7 separate regions of the Homo sapiens genome follow, and all the other regions are linked to region 4. Evidence: promoter capture Hi-C in 16 types of primary human blood cells and fetal thymus (Javierre and others, 2016). All regions are on one chromosome and are shown on one strand. Each heading gives the region's core, a stretch centred on a gene start or on the middle of the fragment in contact. The rest is flanking DNA. Distances are from core to core; before and after follow the strand shown. Region 1 overlaps PIKFYVE (phosphoinositide kinase, FYVE-type zinc finger containing). Region 2 overlaps PIKFYVE (phosphoinositide kinase, FYVE-type zinc finger containing). Region 3 overlaps PIKFYVE (phosphoinositide kinase, FYVE-type zinc finger containing). Region 4 holds the start of INO80D (INO80 complex subunit D). Region 5 holds the start of CTLA4 (cytotoxic T-lymphocyte associated protein 4). Region 6 has its middle 24 kb from the start of ICOS. Region 7 holds the start of CYP20A1 (cytochrome P450 family 20 subfamily A member 1).

Evidence for each region. Contacts are between HindIII fragments. The CHiCAGO score rates a contact against its expected background, and 5 or more counts as called.
Region 1: a fragment that was not itself captured here is called in contact with the fragment with the promoter of INO80D in region 4 in 1 of 17 cell types (total B cells); the score reaches 7.0 in total B cells.
Region 2: a fragment that was not itself captured here is called in contact with the fragment with the promoter of INO80D in region 4 in 3 of 17 cell types (non-activated CD4 T cells, total B cells and total CD8 T cells); the score reaches 6.6 in non-activated CD4 T cells.
Region 3: a contact is called between a fragment that was not itself captured here and the fragment with the promoter of INO80D in region 4, in 1 of 17 cell types (monocytes). The highest score is 5.3, in monocytes.
Region 5: a contact is called between the fragment with the promoter of CTLA4 here and the fragment with the promoter of INO80D in region 4, in 6 of 17 cell types (naive CD8 T cells, total CD4 T cells, activated CD4 T cells and 3 more). The highest score is 12.1, in naive CD8 T cells.
Region 6: a contact is called between a fragment that was not itself captured here and the fragment with the promoter of INO80D in region 4, in 1 of 17 cell types (M2 macrophages). The highest score is 6.1, in M2 macrophages.
Region 7: the fragment with the promoter of CYP20A1 here is called in contact with the fragment with the promoter of INO80D in region 4 in 9 of 17 cell types (total CD8 T cells, total B cells, non-activated CD4 T cells and 6 more); the score reaches 11.7 in total CD8 T cells.

The regions. Positions count from the first base shown.
Region 1 is chr2:208,322,604-208,325,304 of GRCh38, reverse strand. PIKFYVE (phosphoinositide kinase, FYVE-type zinc finger containing) reads right to left here. Exons shown (of 42, transcript NM_015040.4): 18 at 1,023-1,163; 19 at 268-394; 20 at 1-35. Among named protein-coding and RNA genes, the nearest start is that of PIKFYVE, 58 kb to the right of the region's middle. The HindIII fragment of the contact is 5,563 bases long and covers 1-2,701 here.
Region 2 is chr2:208,275,668-208,278,412 of GRCh38, reverse strand. PIKFYVE (phosphoinositide kinase, FYVE-type zinc finger containing) reads right to left here. Exons shown (of 42, transcript NM_015040.4): 4 at 1,583-1,701; 5 at 705-876. Among named protein-coding and RNA genes, the nearest start is that of PIKFYVE, 11 kb to the right of the region's middle. The HindIII fragment of the contact is 177 bases long and covers 1,315-1,491 here.
Region 3 is chr2:208,299,837-208,302,536 of GRCh38, reverse strand. PIKFYVE (phosphoinositide kinase, FYVE-type zinc finger containing) reads right to left here. Exons shown (of 42, transcript NM_015040.4): 9 at 1,443-1,600; 10 at 184-295. Among named protein-coding and RNA genes, the nearest start is that of PIKFYVE, 35 kb to the right of the region's middle. The HindIII fragment of the contact is 2,548 bases long and covers 147-2,694 here.
Region 4 is chr2:206,084,737-206,087,436 of GRCh38, reverse strand. INO80D (INO80 complex subunit D) reads left to right here and starts at 1,263. Exons shown (of 11, transcript NM_017759.5): 1 at 1,263-1,536. INO80D-AS1 (INO80D antisense RNA 1) reads right to left here. Exons shown (of 2, transcript NR_186084.1): 1 at 2,689-2,700; 2 at 1-1,480. RefSeq lists enhancers at 1,007-1,116, 1,127-1,176, 681-1,500, 1,227-1,516 and silencers at 1,567-1,776, 1,857-2,026, 2,047-2,246, 2,287-2,336, 2,238-2,532. The HindIII fragment of the contact is 4,007 bases long and covers 171-2,700 here.
Region 5 is chr2:203,866,475-203,869,174 of GRCh38, reverse strand. CTLA4 (cytotoxic T-lymphocyte associated protein 4) reads right to left here and starts at 1,404. Exons shown (of 4, transcript NM_005214.5): 1 at 1,124-1,404. The coding sequence starts at 1,232. The HindIII fragment of the contact is 240 bases long and covers 1,298-1,537 here.
Region 6 is chr2:203,911,681-203,914,383 of GRCh38, reverse strand. No RefSeq gene overlaps it. Among named protein-coding and RNA genes, the nearest start is that of ICOS, 24 kb to the left of the region's middle. The HindIII fragment of the contact is 3,373 bases long and covers 1-2,703 here.
Region 7 is chr2:203,237,592-203,240,291 of GRCh38, reverse strand. It overlaps CYP20A1 (cytochrome P450 family 20 subfamily A member 1), which reads right to left and starts at 1,274. Exons shown (of 13, transcript NM_177538.3): 1 at 1,158-1,274. The coding sequence starts at 1,229. RefSeq lists enhancers at 554-843, 667-1,238, 1,524-1,573 and a silencer at 1,244-1,453. The HindIII fragment of the contact is 4,599 bases long and covers 1-2,391 here.

The DNA.
Region 1 (2,701 bases), core at 60-2,559, 2.2 Mb before region 4:
ACAACCTTCAAAAAACATCAGTGTCTTGGTTTGTTCTACAAACAAAAACAAACAGAAAGTTAAGATGGTGGAGGTGGCAATCCAGAAGTACAAATAGAATTAATTCACTCTCTTAATATCTGTAAAAGAAAAACTCTTACATGAATAAGATCACAGTTGCCTATCCTCACTTACCCACTATTAATAGGTATTTCCTAGTAAGTAAACATTGTAGTAGTGATAAGTTAACTCTTTTCCTCAGGTCAATCTATGCTAAAGATCACTCACCATTAGGCAACTGAAATATCTGCATATAAAATTTGTGACAAGTGCCCAGGTGTGGTTTCGTAAGCAGCTGGTCCATTGACATCACTAAATCACCTTGGGTCATTCGACTGATTCGTTCCAAAACTTGCTACAAAACAGAAAAACATTGTATTACAAAACTAGAGAAGAATAAAAATCTTTGTAAATTTAATCTGGAAAAGTAATGGAAAAATTAAAAAATAACATTCACAAATTTCCTTTTTAATAAATATATGATGAATTTTTTTATTCTGGATTCTTCTACACTTAGTTGCTTAGTAATCAATATATGCCCACTGAAACCTTACTCATATTAATAACATTATAAAAATGCACTTAAGCATCATGGATTACCACAAGATAATGTGGGGAGAAAAACAACTTCCTAGAATTGGCCCCTGTTCTGCACAGGGTAAACTTTTCAAGGGAGAGAACGTCTTCTGCTTGAGCAATTCTCCAACAAAAATGAAGGATCAACAAATACCTAGTGATTAACTAATGTCCATTTCACTTTTGGTCTTGTAGACACCAATAAGTATTACATAATCAATTATACTTTCTTCCAGTTCCAGTCTGAAATTCTGAATCTTAATGAAATAGGTGCCATATCTTCTGTCCCACTTTCAATACAAATAGAACAGCAAAGAAAAAAAGATTCTTGTATACCTACCATACGTGCATATAAATTTAAAAGCTGTGATTTTTTTAAAATACAATAGAAAATTAAAAACACTCACTGACTTTACATTAATGACCAAAGTAATGCCATGTTCCAATAACATGTCCTGGGCAATCCGAGACACTGTTTTCTCAACAAGAACCAAGGTGGGTCGAACATCAACTATTCGCTGGACATAATTCTTCAAGAATTCCCTTTCCTAAGTAAGATAAATCAGAAATATTACACCTGGTAAAATGCAGTATCTGGACATATTAAAATATCATCAGAGTGAACAGGCAACCTACAGAATGGGAGAAAATTTTTGCAATCTACTCATCTGACAAAGGGCTAATATCCAGAATCTACAAAAAACTCAAACAAATTTACAAGAAAAAAACAAACAACCCCATCAAAAAGTGGGCGAAGCACATGAACAGACACTTCTCAAAAGAAGACATTTATGCACCCAACAGACACATGAAAAAATGCTCATCATCACTGGCCATCAGAGAAATGCAAATCAAAACCACAATGAGATACCATCTCACACCAGATAGAATGGCAATCATTAAAAAGTCAGGAAACAACATGTGCTGGAGAGGATGTGGAGAAATAGGAACACTTTTACACTGTTGGTGGGACTGTAAACTAGTTCAACATTGTGGAAGACAGTGTGGTGATTCCTCAGGGATCTAGAACTAGAAATACCATTTGACCCAGCCATCCCATTACTGGGTATATACCCAAAGGATTATAAATCATGCTGCTATAAAGACACATGCACAAGTATGTTTATTGCGGCACTATTCACAATAGCAAAGACTTGGAACCAACCCAAATGTCCAACAATGATAGACTGGATTAAGAAAATGTGGCACATACACACCATGGAATACTCTGCAGCCAGAGAAAAGGATGAGTTCATGTCCTTTGTAGGGACGTGGATGAAATTGTAAATCATCATTCTCAGTAAACTATCGCAAGGACAAAAAACCAAACACCACATGTTCTCACTCATACATGGGAATTGAACAATGAGAACACATGGACACAGGAAGGGGAACATCACACTCTGGGGACTGTTGTGGGGTGGGGGGAGGGGGGAGGAATAGCATTAGGAGATATACCTAATGCTAAATGACGAGTTAATGGGTACAGCACACCAGCACGGCACATGTATACATATGTAACTAACCTGCACATTGTGCACATGTACCCTAAAACTTAAAGTATACTACTACTAATAATAATAAAATAAAAAATAAAATAAAAATAAAAAAGAAAATGTGGCACATACACACCATGGAATACTCTGCAGCCATAAAAAAGGATGAGTTCATGTCCTTTGTAGGGACATGGATGAAGCTGGAAACCAACATTCTCAGCAAACTATCACAAGGACAAAAAACCAAACACCGCATGTTCTCACTCATAGGTGGGAATTCAACATTGAGAACACCTGGACACAGGAAGGGGAACATCATACACGGGGGCCTGTCATGGGGTGGGGGAGGGGGGAGGGATAGCATTAGGAGATATACCTAATGTAAATGACAAGTTAATGGGTGCAACACATGAACATGGCATATGTATACATATGTAACAAACCTGCACATTGTGCACATGTACCCTAGAACTTAAAGTGTAATAAAAAAAATATATATATATATATCAAGATAGCTTGACTATTATCAATCTTAGACTAAATTTTCTTCATCCACAAATAAGTCTGTAAGCAAATTAATGCAAACACAG
Region 2 (2,745 bases), core at 154-2,653, 2.2 Mb before region 4:
AAAAAAAAAAGAAATACAAGTAATTTTCAAACAAAAAAGCTGTTGTAAAAGCTAATGGGGTTCTGGGTGACAGATAATGGGATTCTGAACTCTGTAGTAGTTTAGGTGGAAAAAAAAATGAGCAGACAGAAAGATCTTCACAATAACAAAAATAACATGAGAGAGATGTTAGGAGTTTTGTTTTTCAGGTAATTTCTGACTATCTTCTACTCCCAAATCACTGTATAAATCAACATACCATTGTTCAGTTTTTTCTGTTTCAAGAAATAACTTAAATTTTCTGTACTGCTGAAATTTGACTATGTTCCTTATGGAGGAATCTGAGTAAGACACAATTCACTGCCAAAGCACAGTGTCATGTAATTACGTCAAGGAAGATCTGTCCTTTTAAAATGAAAACTCTCATAGTGATTTAAATTAGTAATCTACTCTAACGATCTTGTCTAATAAATTTTAATGTTCCTATAGTTTTTTGCTAGCATCTACAATAAATACACTTTTACTCTAGTTATTTATGATAAGTCCCATCTACTGTATTATTCAATAGGAAAGTTCTTAAAAGCAAAGCTGTCTCCCTCACCTTTGTGTCCCCATGTCTTACACATAAAACCCAAAATGAAAATTGGCTTAACACTATCCTGTATTATAAGTGTCTTATAGTTATGACCTTTAAAAATTGTAAACTGGCAATAAAATGCATTTACCTGTATAGCCCATAAATTTTCCAGGGATTTCTTGATTACAGCAACGACTGCAGAAAATCTGCCCACATAGTCGGCAATGGTGTCTGCGCCTAAAGGTTGTAAATTTCTCACTACAGTCATAGCACTCTTTACATTGGCTATCTGGCATCCAGTATTGTTTCAGGTCACTATCCTATAACAATAAAAATGTGTGAAGGCTTCTTGAAAATACTGATTATTAATATGCAATGGCAAATGAAATCCTCAAAGGTTTCTTTTGCAGAAAACAAACTAATTCAAAAATTCATATGGGAATACGAAAGGTCAAAATAACCAAGACAATCTTGAAGAAGAACAAATTGAAGGACTTAATATTACCAGCCATCAAGACTTATTCTTAATGCTACAATAATTTTAGACAGGGTACTGGTACAAGGATAGAAAAAAATAAAGGTATGGAACAGAAAAAGAGAGCCCTGACACACCCTCACACATATATGGACTTACGGTGGAATTTATAATGCAATCAGTGAAAGATGGTCTTTTCAAAAACAATGGTACTATATCCAACTGGACATCCATGAGGAAAAATGGAAGCCTGACCCCTATACTTGACAGAAATAATAAAGCTTCTTGAAGAAACCATAGGAGAATATCTACTGCCCTGAACTAGATAAACACTTCTTAAACAGAACGCGAAAAGCACTAAGGATAACGGGAAAAAAACTGATAAATTAGACTACAATAAAATTAAGAACTTATGTATAAAAATAGGGTGCTCACAGCTGGAGGAAGCGCTAATTAAGCTTTCTTTCAGTGGCATTAAGCCATTTTCATTAGGTATGGCATGATCCCCATAAGCGCTTAATAAGTAATCTTCCAAAGCCTCTAGACAGTACCTGGCTTTTCCCCTCCATGATTTCCTTGAGGCGTTTTAATACTGTGCTGAGGCTTCGAAGCTGAACAGCTGTACGAGGGTCATGACCTCCAAAGGTAGGTTCTGCTTTCCTTCTTGTGTCTGAGTTGGATTAAAAAAAAAGCAACCTTGTTAACAGTCCCTAGTATCTATATACAACAAGGTATATATGTGATGGAAACTGCCTCTTATTGTTGGCATATAATTATGTTCTCCCACCCGGTTATATGAATTGAGAGTTAAAACAAGTCTTTATAAGGGTAAGAGGCTACTGAAAGTATTTCTTCTCATGTAAAATGCTGTTTTACAAGCGAGTCAAGGCTGCCTAAGACAAGCATTGTCTGAGACCATTGATGGTTTTCAGGCCTGGAATGGGAACATCACTTAAATGGTCCAAAATTCATTAATGACTCCTTAAGCCCTTTGGTCCAACCTATAATAAATGCATGCTAGAAATTTAGCAGAAGAAAAAGCAATCAAGGAGGGTTAACTTAGCTTGGTCTCTAAAGTCAAACAGGTAAGCAATAGGATCAAACAGTTCAGTTCTGTCTATATCTGTAGACCATATATCCAAAGTCTCATACAGAAGATGATCAGAAAGAAGTTTAATAGCCCAGCCTTCAAAGATTCTGACAGACTTCACAACATCCAGGATGGCAAATTTTGCCATGGTAAAACCTGACCTATGTCCAAGCAAATTAAAACTGCCAGAAAATTGCTAAAACTCCAATCCTATCCTTCCCTGTCACTTCCCCAACCCCACAGCTCCAAATAGGAAAGGATCATTTATACCTGACATAGCAATACTGAAGCCAAATCTATCACTAATAAGCCCAAATTCCAGCCTCATGGCCAAAATAGGGTATGCCCACCAAAGTTGTCACTTATTATTTCCTTAATTTAGACCAAAATTACAACTGAAGTTTCTGCCTATTTCTGGCAGTTACAAAACCTAAGCATGAAGCAAAGACGTTTTGACAAAAAGGATGAACATCCTATTAGCTTAAACCCATCAAACTGATAACCTATGGCAAAGTAAACTGGAAAATACCCCACTCTGAATCTTCCTCAAACTCACCATTTGCTAGATAGGTGCTGTTTTGGCTGGGAGGGAAAAAAAAGAATTACAAAGAAATGAGAGGTTGG
Region 3 (2,700 bases), core at 171-2,670, 2.2 Mb before region 4:
TCTAATGGCAGCTTTTTCATCACTGCTGCCTACCAAGTAAAAAAAGTTTTAACTTTCCTCAAACAGCAGGAAAAAATGTTAGAAAAATCATCTTCTAATAAACTACTTTTTATTCCCACTGATGAAGAAAGACTATAAAATAAGCTTGCTACATTCTAATTGGCAGTAAACACTGAAAAGTACCTGCAGTGGTCTATACAGCGCATACTCATCTCTGAAAAGCTGGTCGTGATGACTAACACAATCCAGCCAACGTCCATCAACCATTGCTTGTCCAATTGCTATAGCTTGTGCCCTGAATCAAGACCCACAAAAATGAAAAGTTTTAAAAGTCAGTCAGAATAGTTAAGTACCAGATAAGACACAACCTTAAAATATTTTTTTTCAGTTCTAATCAGAGTTAGAATTTCAAATGGCCCTTGGATAAGTAAAGGACGAAACGAGAGAGTTAAAGCAAACTAAAAGATTCTTCCAGGTACTATAGTAAAGGAGAAGAAACTACTGGTAAGGCAGTCCCAACAAAACCTAATTTTAATAACAGCAAGCATTGACTGAGTATTCAATGCACGCACAACCCTATACTTAACAGATTTTAAAATGTTGAGAAAAGCTCCTACCTTCAAGGAGCTTAGTTTTAATAAGACAATACCAAATATTACAGATACAGCCATAAAATGTGTGTGTGTGTATATATATATATGAAATAGACACTTAATGACACCATACATTATATGGCATTTCACAATTTATAAAGCACTTCAGCCACTATTATTTCATCCCCCACAGTTTATTCACAGGACCACACAATTTTCCTCATGGTGAAGAAGTCTCAGAGATTGAATAATGTGACTAAAAGCACAAAGCTAAAAAATATATACAGCCAAAATTGCAACCAGGGCTTTACTGCTTAAAGCTATTTCTCTCTTTACTTCATTACGTACCTTTTTCTTCCCATGAGAGGAGGAGTAGCTAATCTGAGAAAATAGTAAAAGCTAGGGGATACATGTATTTGAAAAGCAGGACCTGTCTGTTACTCTTTTTTATAAATGATTTGTGAGGCAAGCTAGGACCCGACAGGCATAGCTTATGGATCAAATACTCAACACAGGTTACAACCTGTCTAGATTAGTGAACAGTAGCTGGGGAATTCTTTGGCCTTAGGTTCCAGCTACCTTCTCTAATCCTCCTTTGCTAGAGAGTTCTTCTGCTTTTAATAAGGTAAATTAAGATCCTATTTGGCTCCTTGTACTCCTTGCATCTGTTCTCTGCTGGTTAAAACTCAGATTGGAGGAGGGTTAAGTAATTAGCACCCTAAACCATCAATTACATAAAACAAAGAGCACCCTAACTCTACAAAGAAATCTGTAACTCTTACTATCTTCAAATATGTTTTCTCATTCAAAATAAACAAATAATATTGAAACCTTCTAAGATCAGAATACCTTGTGGCAATATGCCCATTTCGGATTAGCCAGTTGACTAATTCCTTTCCTACAATGCAGTTGGGATGCGTTCTCAACCAGTAGCGGTGATCCTGAAACTCCATTCCACTGCTGTGATGGCAGATTTTTTTCCACAGGTCTTTTAACTGCACACTGTCCTGCAATCACATTAACAGCAAGTAGTTACCCTTGAGAAAAATGCTATATACCTTTTCAGATGTTTTCCTGTGATTTTTAGACTCATAAAAGGAAACCTAACTTGGATTTCTTTATGGTAGCTAACTCACACAATTTAATACAAATGTCATATACGTGGGAACAGCTTGAACTCTGCTCATCTAATTCCAAACATAACTTTTTCTCTTGAAAACCAACTATTCCAAATACTTCTTTTTTCAGTCAATGGCACATATTATCAATCTCCTATTTATGTATTCTTCTTTGGAGATGGGGCAAGGCAGAGGGAGACAACAGTTAATCACACTAACCTAAGGTAACTGTTCCTAGAGGCTTTCACTCCACCAGATTCTCACTGTGTACCCAACTGACAGATGAGTTTTTTAAAAAGAAGAGCTTCAGTAAATTACTCCCTGCTCAAAAAAATTCTGAATGTTCCTCAGCAACTAAAGTTTCAAATCTACACCTGTAAGTACAGAATTCATTGCCTTCCACCAGGTAGTCCCAAATAACTTTCCTTTCTCATTGCCCCCAGACTCCTACTTAAACTCTCTCCCAATTAAAAAATCCTACTTCTGGCCATGGAAAATGTCATGCTTATTCTTACCTCTGTATCTTTCTTCACACCTTTAAATAAGATTCACCTTCCTCACTGCCTATCCAAAATGATTCCATCTCTCAAGGTCCAGTTCAAGTCCTTCAGTTTAAGCCTTTTTCTGATTCCCTCATTAGTAATGAGCTTTCTGTTTTTTTGAATTCTTACATGACATATAGTCATTTATTTATTTGACACTTTTTTATTATTAAAGTATTACTACTTCCACTATTAAGGATCTTCCCACTGATCTTATTTCTACCTTTTGTGGGTTTGCTGGTTTGTTTGTTGTCTTAGAGACAAGGTCTTGCTATGTTGCCCAGGCTGGAGTGCAGTGGCTATTCACAGCCATGATCACAGCACCCTACAGCCTCAAACCCCTGGCCTCAAGAGTCCTCTCACCCTAGCCTCCCAAGTAGCTGGGACTACACGTGCATGCCACCACACCTGGCTCTTATTTCTACTTTTGAATTATAAGCTTGAGGA
Region 4 (2,700 bases), core at 14-2,513:
CGGTTCTTTTTCTATTATTTTTCTCTTTCTTCACAAAAATAGAAAAATGTCTCTGCAATTTATCCTCCAATAAGCGTTCTATTGGAATCGATGTAAATGGGTACCCTTTGTCCCTCTCACCTCTGTGCTAACAGCATTGTTTAACTCTGATCCCATTTATCTAGTAAGCTTTGCTCATTTAAAAAAGTAAATTCATGACATCCACTGCAATATACAAAAAGTCTATCATACAGGCTGGCAGCACATTGGAAGTTCTGAACTAACATAACTAACAAAAATAGCCACATTTCTCAATTCTGTGACACAAAAAGCAGATAGCAACATGTGTAATGCACCAAAGATCTAGCTAGAGTTTAAAGAATCTAAATAAATAAAAAAATTAAATGCCCGGATATAATTCTTAATAAGCTATTTTACCTCAAGAAAAATCTAAGGCTGTCTTTAAAATCTCTTTCCAGTTTTACTGTATCCTTTCTGTATGGGCAGCATAACAGAATTTCCAGAAACAGGGGCCGTTTTTAAATCCCCAGTGATAGCTGCCTTTATCTGCACTGTGGAAAATGACACACTGTATCATGCCTTTCTGGACAGTCCATAGGTTTTATTTACATTGCTTTGAGAAACAGACGAAAGACATGTTTTTTTACAATTGTCTTACAGCAATCTGTTCTGAGAGTAACATGTAACACAAATTTTTATATGCAATATATGAAAACATAAATATTTATATATACAATAACATAACCAGACAAATAAATGAAGTTACTATTAAGTCTCTTTAAGTATAAATTTACAAACTGACCACCAGCCACAGAACTTAGCCCTGTAATGGAGAAAAATTATTACTGGCTTAAAAAAATATTAAAATATCACTGTCACTAACATGAAAAAAATTAAAAACAGAAAATAAAAAACAATAACCACCGGAAAACCTGTGTCTTGTAAAGATTTCTTTCCATCAGAAGATGCAGAAACATTTTTCCCCCTGGAGCAAATGAAAACGTTTCTCATGCACCCCCCGTTTCTTCCCTGCTTTCTCCCCCAGGCGCGGGTGTAGACGGCCGGTGTGGACTTTTTTCCAGAGATGAGAAGTAAAAATTTGTACTTTATCGGGAGCGGGTGCACTTTTCCCCCTGGCCCCCCTTTGCTCTGCCTCCAAGATGGTAGGAAAGTTGTCGTTTCGGAGGGCAGAGGAGCAGCTCTCTGGTGTTATGTCCTCGCAGTGCCTGTAGTGGTGCTGTAGGAGGCTGCTGCCTCTTCTTGTACAGCCCCGGCAGCCCTGCCTTCTTGGCTGGAGAGTATATTCAGGGATTTCCCCTTAATAATCACCGACCCTGGGAGCACTTTTTAGTTTCCAAAATAAAAATATGATCCTCACCCCTCTTGCTTGACAGGGAAAGGCTCTCGCCGGAGCCCAGGGGGGAGCAGTAGCAGCGGCAGCCGAGCTTCCTAGTCCATTGCCAGCGCCTCTCACTCTGATCTGTCAGCCCAGCCGAGGGAACAGGGGGGAAGGAGAAAAAAAAAAGCAGCTGAAAGGTAAGCAGAGGCGGCCCCAGGCCCGGCCCACATCCCCGGGCTCCCGTAGGGCGGCGGGCTGGGCCGCGCAGGCTGGGCGGGCGGCGAGCGCGCTTACGTGAGGCCGGGGATTCGCCGGCCCACGCCAGGCCCCGGGCGGAGAATGAAAGGGTGAGTGGGGCCGGCGCCCGGGTGGTGGAGGCCGGGGGCCTGAGGGCCTCCGGGGCGCCCGCGGGCGGCGACGGCGGGCGGGCAGGGGTCCAGCCGGAGCCGGAGTGGGGCGAGCGGAGCGGCCTGCGCGGGCCAGGTGGGGGTGTGCGGCGGGAGGGGGGGGCGCCGGTAGGCCTCGGGCCGGTAGGCCCCACGGCAGCCGCGCCCTGCCCCCGCACCCCGGGCCTCCGCGCGCCCCCTCGAGTCCCCCGGGGTCTCCGGGTGGGACGGCGGCGCTGCTGGGCCGAATCCCGCGCCGGCCCGGAGGCTTTCCCGCGGGGCGGCAGGCCCGGGCTGCCGGGACAGGGGCGTCAGGGCCTAGGAGTGGGGAGTGGGGAATGGGCGCCCGGCTCCCCTTCCCCCGGGTCTCTCGCAGACGGCCCCCAGATTCCGGTAAGAGTTGAATTTATTTATCCCCCTCCTCCGCGCTCCGGACGGCCAGGCCGGGGCGGGGCGGGGCGGGCGGCCTGGCGGGCGTGGGGTCGGGTGGAGGGGCGGTGAGGAGTCAGGTGCAGCCGCGGCCCAGAAAGTTTCCTTTTAGGCCCGAACTGGGGGCCGCTGTCTCTCCGGGGAGCCCTGGTCCTAGCGCCCGGGACCCCCCAGGGCGTGGGGGAGCGCACTCGGCTATTTTGAAACTCTTTGCCAGTTCCTGTCCATTGAAGAAGGTACTCCGCCCCTGCACCCCTCGCCCGCGCCCCACCCAACTCCCCGCGAGCCCATTCGGGGCTGCTAACTCCAGCCCCTTCCCCCTAGAGCCCCCCAGGTTGGGGAGAGGGCCTTCTCTTCCGGTTTGGAAAAGTTTGCAAGGGGCTTTTCTTAGCTTTATTAGTTAGTGACTGGGTTTTTGGGGTGGGAAGGAGGAGGTAAACTCAGGTGGTGTTTCTGCCGGACAATCTTTCCCTATTGCCTTTTTTAGCCCTTACCCCACCAACTGGGGGTGTTATTTTCAGCTTGAGTACCCACCCCCTTTCATCC
Region 5 (2,700 bases), core at 155-2,654, 2.2 Mb after region 4:
CAATAATCTTTATTGTATTGACTCTAAGCTTAAGAAATCCTAAATGTCCTGCCCTCTCCCCAAGCAAGCTCACACTCATCACCACTAAATGCGGTCACACTCAACTTTCCAGTATTGGGAGGGTCCTGTTACTGGTTGAGATAAATTTACTTTAGGAAATTTAAATACTTCTAAGAGTGTTTATTTAATCTTTACATATTTAAAACATGTAAAAATAAGAAAACATATATGAATATTTCTTCTCCAGTAAAAATTAAATCATCAAATATCTTTTGAGTACCTACTTCATACAAACTACATGGTTTCTTAACCAAGAAGGTCTAGAGAGAGATAAGGTTGAGATTCAATGGATATACTCATCATTTTAAGCCGTGTAACAAACCTGGTGTCAGTCTCTGAAGAGCTGAAAACTGAGGATCTGCATCTGAAACCCACACGTAGGTCAGGCAACAATTAAGTATTGTATGCCAAACAGACTGGTGGCTTTCTTTCTTTCCTTTTCCTTGTCTTTTTTTTTTGGCAATTTCAAACTTTTATTTTTAAATAATTGGCTAATTAGCTAGTAGAATTGATTAAGAGAACCTTAAAACCTTGAATTAAGTAAAGAAGGCATTCTTCCCACAATTTCCCTACATTTTAAACAAGCTGGCTAATTCATTTATAAAGTATATGAATCCGAGGACCTTAAAACCTTGAATTGTATAGCAAAAAAACTCTTCCCAGGATTTGCTTAAGTCAATTTTTTTTAAAGGAACTTGTGAGCTCATCCTGAAACCCAGCTCAAATGTATTCAGGACTATGGCTATCCTTTCCCTCTTAAATCACTTCCAGTCTCATAGAAGGGTCTGAAATTGCCTGTGTCTCTCTACTAAACCAACTCACATGCATTCATGAAGCCCCTACTAAATACCTGGCGCTCTGTTCTGAGCTATCTCTTTGCCTTATTTGCTGCCGCCCAACTGCTCCCTGCTGGCCCTGGAATACAGAGCCAGCCAAGCCAGATTGGAGTTTTACCTTTAACTTCTGGCTTTGCTATAAATCACTGCCTTTGACTGCTGAAACAAATGAAACCCAGGTAGGAGAAACACCTCCTCCATCTTCATGCTCCAAAAGTCTCACTCACCTTTGCAGAAGACAGGGATGAAGAGAAGAAAAAACAGGAGAGTGCAGGGCCAGGTCCTGGTAGCCAGGTTCAGCTGAGCCTTGTGCCGCTGAAATCCAAGGCAAGCCATGGCTTTATGGGAGCGGTGTTCAGGTCTTCAGGAAGTAGAGCAAAACCTTTCAGGATCCTGAAGCTTTGAAATGTGTTTGAACCCACACAGAATCAAGGACTTTATATAGATAGCTTTGATCCCAGATATGTATTACACATGTGCACACACAGAAGGCACTTGAATAGAAAGCCTTTTTGTTTTGGTTTTACGAGAAAGGAAGCCGTGGGTTTAGCTGTTACGTCGAAAAGACAACCTCAAGCACTCAACTGAACAAAACAAGCCAATCCATGGATGGAAAATGTATTCAATTTGAAACTGAAGCTTCATGTTCACTTTGAGGATCTGGATAACTAAGTGGAGACTTGGAGAATTTCCTGGAGTACAAGGGTCCTCCTAAATCCCAATTTTATTCAATCTTCTGGGCATCCTTAACCATCCAGTCCAATTCATTTCATTGACAACTCCAAAACTACTAGGCTGCTAACTTTCTGAGCCCTTGGGCTAATGGCAGGATTTGTCTAGGCATCATTAATAAAAACTGTATTCTATCTGTGAAGCACCATCCTTCTAATGGTCCCTTGACAGCTTTACAAATAAGTTTATTTCTCCTAAATCCATTTAGCATTTGGTTAAGAGAAAAAAACTAAAATCACAAGAAATAAACTGAAAATAGGCGGAAAAGAAGCTGCCTCTGGTTTTGCAGAAGGAAAGAATTCAGGTGTTCTTAAAAGCCTTAACTCAACAGAGACAAAACAGAGTTGAAGAAGGTCCAAAGAAAAGCCAACCCAAATGATTCAAGAGATTAGAGCCGTCCATAAAAGGATAGACTTTTTTTTCTAATACAAATTTTTCAAGCAGAAAATTCAAAAGTGAAGATTAAATATAACCAGAGTCCTTAAATTTGTGACAGCTGTAGACAGGACCAATGATCTAACAAAAAGAATTTGAAACATTGAGGACCTTCCTTAAATCTGGAGAGTTTTCATACATTTTAATAAAGAAAGAAACATTCATGGGGAACCTGTAATATGCCCGGAATTCTGTGCACTTAGGATTGAATGATGACAAAACAAAAACATAGTTGATACCTTAAGGGGCTTCTAGAAGGCTGACATGCAAACAGACAGTTGTAACAGGGAATATGACATTTGCCTACTCCAGTCCGTCCATGGTTTCCCATTGTCCACACCTCAGCACAGCAGAGGAGACTCTGCAGAATACTCACCAAATGCCTCCCTCTTTGGCCTGTACCCCAGCATTCCCTCCCATTCCCCCTTCCTGCATTTGTCTTTCCTTCCACGTGCCTCTTTCAGGCCTCATCACCTTTACCCATGCTGTTCCTACTGCCTTTTTTCTCCTATTATCTTATTTTATACTCCTTCTCATCCTCCAGGACTTAGCTCAGCTGTCATCTCCTCCAGGAAGCCTCTTCTTTTTTTTTTTAAAATTTTATTATTATTATACTTTAAGTTTTAGGGTACATGTG
Region 6 (2,703 bases), core at 189-2,688, 2.2 Mb after region 4:
TGCACCTGGAAACTCCACCTGTCTGGTCCAAGGGAGTCAAGGGTAGAATGACATGGGAAAGTTTCCTTCAACAGAGAATAGTACCCTCCAATTGCCCAGAAATTGACACCAACATTGTCAAAGAAACCGTGAAGGGATTCCAAAATATCCAGGGAAATGTCCTGTGTGTACACAGGTCCTGTGAAAACGTCAGTCGCAAGCACAAGGTGGCAGATGCTGCACTCTGATTGGTCAGACGTACTACGCCCAAAGTTAGAGGCCGGCAGTGTGATTGGTGGGTGAGGAGAGCCGAACTTTGGCCAGAGGGAGGGAGGTTAAAACGGAAATAGTGAAAGGGAGCAGAGAAAGGACAAGAGGGACAAAAATAAAGTAAAAGGAGAAGAGAGAGAAAGCAGCAGCAGAAGAAGAGGACTGTGAGAAGAAATGCAATCTTACTAGGGAAAGATTTAATGAGGGGGAATTGGTTTATTGAAAACACCCAGGCTTGTTTTCCTAGGGGCTTCTATGAGAGGACATTTCTGAAACTGAGAATTGATCTCCCCAAGTTGTAAACACTGTCATAGTCCCTGAATGATTTTTGTTTCTTTGTTTTTGGTGTTAATTATTTGTTTTTGCTATTTTCCAGTGCCGCTTGGACTATGATTATCTTAATAATTGTATTTTTAATAAATGTGCCCTTATGTTTTATTTTAAATAAATTGTAAAACTTTCATATCAGTAATTGAATGGAAAGCCAATATTATTTGCCATGAATAAAAGGTAATGACAAAAATAAATAAAACAGAAACAATACCTTAAATTCTATCCAGATCCTAATAACAGAGAAGAGACAGATATAGATCTACATATAGATATATATCCTAGTGTGTTAGGGAGACATTAAATGAGTCTAGGTCTTTAATATAATCTAAAGGAAAAAAAGAGAATCGAAATGAGAAAAAATATTTTCACTTGGTAAGTGAATGTTATTTAATGCCATATCCAAGTAACACCTGAAGTCATTTTTCCTTAGACCTCCAAAAACAGGTGTTACCCATCTCACATTTTAGAAACTGCTGGGTCTATGAGCATTTTATTTCATAGAAAACACCATGCTCTTAATAAATTAAGACATTATTTTCTTAGACCAGCCACCAGTGTTACCAGAATTTAATCTGAGCACCCCTCCAAGAGGCTAATCTCCTCTGGGAGTACTAAGGCTTTATGGGGGCAGGACGAGAACCAGAGTCAGGAAAGGAGCCAACCCGGAAAAATGCTGTCAAGGAGTCACTGGGTCCCTGGATGAGGTCCTCACCACTGCATCTGCCCCTGGCACACACATGGCTTCTGAGCACTTGGAAGTGGCTAGTTTAAACTGAGATGCACAATGTAAAATATGCACCAGATTTTTGAAGACAGTACAAAATTTTTAAATCTCTTATTAATAACTTTATGCTGATTACATATTAAAGCAATTTTTAGATATATTGCATTAAATAAAATATTTAAATTCACTTATTTCTTTTTAACTTTTCAATTATTTTATTTTGAACTAATTTTCAACTTAAAGGAAAAATTGTGTAAGTTCCCACAGTCTTCACCTAGCTTTCCCTTAAGTTAATATCTTACATAACCATAGTACAATGATCAAAACCAATAAATTAACATTGATACATTAGTATAAACTACAAAGTGTACTCAAATTTCACCAATTTTTCCACTGGTGTCCTTTTTTCCCCAGGATCCAACCCAAGATACCACGTTGTATGTAGTTGTCATGTCCCCTTAGTTTCTTCCAATCTATGATGGTTCCTCGGTCTTTGCTTGCATTCATGACCTTGACACTTTTGAAGAGCACTGATCTGTTATCTTGTACCATGTCCCTCAATTTAGGTTTGTGTAGTGTTTTCTCATGATTGGAATGAGTGTGTGCATTTTTGGCAAGAGAAATCACAGACGGAAGTGTCCTTCTCAGATCATTCTATCAAAGGGCTCATGATGTCAATATGTCTTGTTACTAGTGATTTTTACTTTTATTTAATGTGGCTACTACAAAAATTTTAATTACATGTGTGCCTCACATTATAATTCAGTTGGACAGCGCTGGCTGACACCATACTACAGGTAAAATAATAAGCATGTGACTTAAAAGAACATGTTCATAACAAAATATATGGATTTAATCATCGATATTTTCCAGACCCTTTTTATTTCAAAACCTTTTAATACTAATGAACCAAATGTTTATCGAGAGCTTACTCTATGTCAGACTCTTTTCTAAACACTTTGCATGTGCTGAATCATTTAATCCTCACACAACCCGATAAAGTAGATGTTCCTATCATCCCTGCTTTGCAACTGGGGAACCTGAGATGGTAAAGAGGGTTTAAGTGGCGTAAGGCCCTCACACAGCTTGCTAAATGGAAGATCTAGAATTTAAACACAGGAGAATTCCAGAGCCCATGCTTATAACCACTACACTTTTTTTTTTTGAGACGGAGTCTCGCTCTGTCGCCCAGGCTGGAGTGCAGTGGCGCAATCTCGGCTCACTGCAAGCTCCGTCTCCCGGGTTCAAGCCATTCTCCTGCCTCAGCCTCCCTAGTAGCTGGGACTACGGGCGCCCGCCAACACGCCCGACTAATTTTTTGTATTTTTAGTAGAGACGGAGTTTCACCGTAGACAGGATGGTCTCGATTTCCTGACCTCGTGATCCGCCCGCCTCGG
Region 7 (2,700 bases), core at 25-2,524, 2.8 Mb after region 4:
CAGAAAATAAGATTTCAGGAAGTCCCTGATTGTGTAGTTGCAAGATTCTAGTCTAATCCATTTACCTGCTCGGAAAAGAACATTTAAGAAGGTGTATGGTCAATTCCAGCAGTTCAGCTACTTTTCAACTTTCACTGTAAAACCACCACCTTGCTTTGTAGAACAGGTGTTTTTTGTTTGTTTGTTTGTTTGTTTTGAGATAAGAGTCTGGCTCTGTCGCCAGGCTGCAGTGCAGTGGTGCGATCTTGGCTCACTGCAAGCTCCGCCTCCCAGGTTCAAGCGATTCTCCTGCCTCAGCCTCCTGAGTAGCTGGGATTACAGGCGCCCGCCACCACAGCCAGCTAATGTTTGTATTTTTAGTAGAGACGGTGTGTCACCATGTTGGCCAGGATGGTCTCGATATCCTGACCTCGTGATCCGCCCGCCTCAGCCTCCCAAAGTGTGTAGAACAGGTTTTAAAGACGGTCCTCAGTCATCAACACTTTTGTTTTCAGACCCTCCCTCTCTCGCTGACGGAGGCAAGTGGAGAGAGGAGGACCGGAGGCTCGCAGAGGCGTCAGCGGCAGAGGAAACCTCGCACCCGAACCCGCAGCGCGGCGCTCTCCCCAAAGAAGCATTTGCCTGGAGCCCCTAAGAGGAGCAAGACCTGGACCTCGAGCACTTTGGATTCCAGTCAGGATAGATCGATGGACAGATGGAAAAGAGGAATACACAAGTGCTGGGAGAATCCTCAAGAAAGGAGAAAGGAGTGGCGCGCCCAGGAGTCTCGTCCTGACACACTGGGAAATGAAATTTGGGTTTGGCGAGTTATGGCCAAAAAGCTGCCCAAAGTACTTGAGAGCCGCCTTGGAGAGTGGCGCGGGGTGCCTGGCAAGGTGAGACCGGCCTGCGGGGGCGCGGGCTTTTCCTCAGCAGCTCTACGCCCGCCTGGCCCGGCGCCTGAGGGGTAGCGACGCAGCCCACGTCGCTCTCAGAGCTTGCCGGGAGGGGCGTCACGTGACTCCGGGTGCGGTCCCCGCGCTGAAGCTCTGGAGCGAACCCGAACCCTCCTCTCAGGCCCGCCCCCTGCGGCCCGCAGCGGGCAGGTTGGCCTGGATGCCGGCGACAGAGAGACTGGGGCGGCGCCCGGGGCCCCAGAGAGCCAAGACGGCGCTCACCGGATAGAGGTAGAGCACGGCTCCCACCAACGCCAGCAAGAAGGTAACGGCGAAGATCGCGAAGTCCAACATGGTTCTGCCGCCCAGGGAGCCACGTCTCGGATCGGCCGCTCCAGCAGCAGCGCCTCAGCCTGGCCCAATTTAAGGCATAGCGTGTGGGCGGGGGCACCCCGCGGGACCCGGAAACCAACGGGCCGCTGGGGGCGTGACCGAGGCCTGCGGCCGGCGCCAGAGGAAAGAGCAATGGATCGCCGAGGAGCCGGGGCGCGGGTTCCTGAGCGCAGCAGGCCGAGGCTGAGGCCGCCTAGCGCCAGCCTCCACCGCAAGGCGGGGATTTCGGTGCACACGATTTCAGACAGAATATGCCCGCGACTTCGGACCGGGTTGCTGGCGAAAGCAGAGCCCAGCTTTCTGAGAAAAGTTAGGAGTTAGTAGTGCTCTGTCCGCCCAACAGTTTTCGCAATGGATTCAGAATTAAAACCTCTAAACCGATGATTTTCGAAGAGTGGTCCCGGTACCAGCTGCATCAACGTCGCCCGGGAGCTCGTTAGAGATTCAGATTATCGATGCCGGGCGCGGTGGCTCCACCTGTAATCCCAGCACCTTGGGAGGCTGAAGCGGGAGGATCGCTTGAGCCCAGGAGTTTGAGACCAGCGTGGGCAACATAGTGAGACCCCAGTCTCTACAAAAAAAAAAAAAAAAAAAAAAAAAAAATTAGCCTACAGTGGTGGCGCTTGCCTGTGGCCCCAGCTGCTCCGGAGGCTGAGGCTGGAGGATCACTTTAGCCGGGGAGGCAGAGGCTACAGTGAGCCGAGATGGCACGACTGCACTCCAGCCTGGGCGACAGGGCGAGACCCTGTCTCAAAAACAAAACAAAACAAAACAAAAGGAAAACAAAATAAAAAGATTCTCGATCCCAAACTAGACCTACTGAATCAAACACTCGGGGTGGGCAGGGGTAGGGGGCGCGTACAACAATCTGTTTGAACAGAGCCCTCCCGGGGACACTGTTACACACTTAAATTTGAGTGAAAACCACCACTGATCTAAGCGGGACAGGGAAGTGTCTGGGAGTAAAACAAGAGTAGATACGCCTTGTTTCGCAGAATTTCTGTCTGAAGTACTAGTAAATGTGATTCTTTGACACTTTCTGGTGAGCGGAGGCTGCACACTGTTCAGGTTTCCTTGCTCTGTTAACTCTGACTTTCGGTAAATTGCTTCAGTTTTCTAAGCTTCCATTTCCTTCTATGTAAAAAAGTGAAAATAATACCACATGGAGTTGCCTGTAGGTTAAATTACATATTTTATGAAAATCACTTAGCACAGCTCCTGGCAAAACCGAATAAGTGCTATCTACGTCAGCATTTGGCGTTTGTTGCCCTGGGCATAAAATACCCTAGGACCCCTCTTTCTATTTCGCCTGGCTCAGAAGTTTTGACGTGGCTACTGAAATACAAGACAAGGCCTGCTACTTACTAGTGCTGCTTTTAGTGAAAGTGTGCTAAAAGTATTTATAGATTTTATAGCTTTAATAATATAAAAT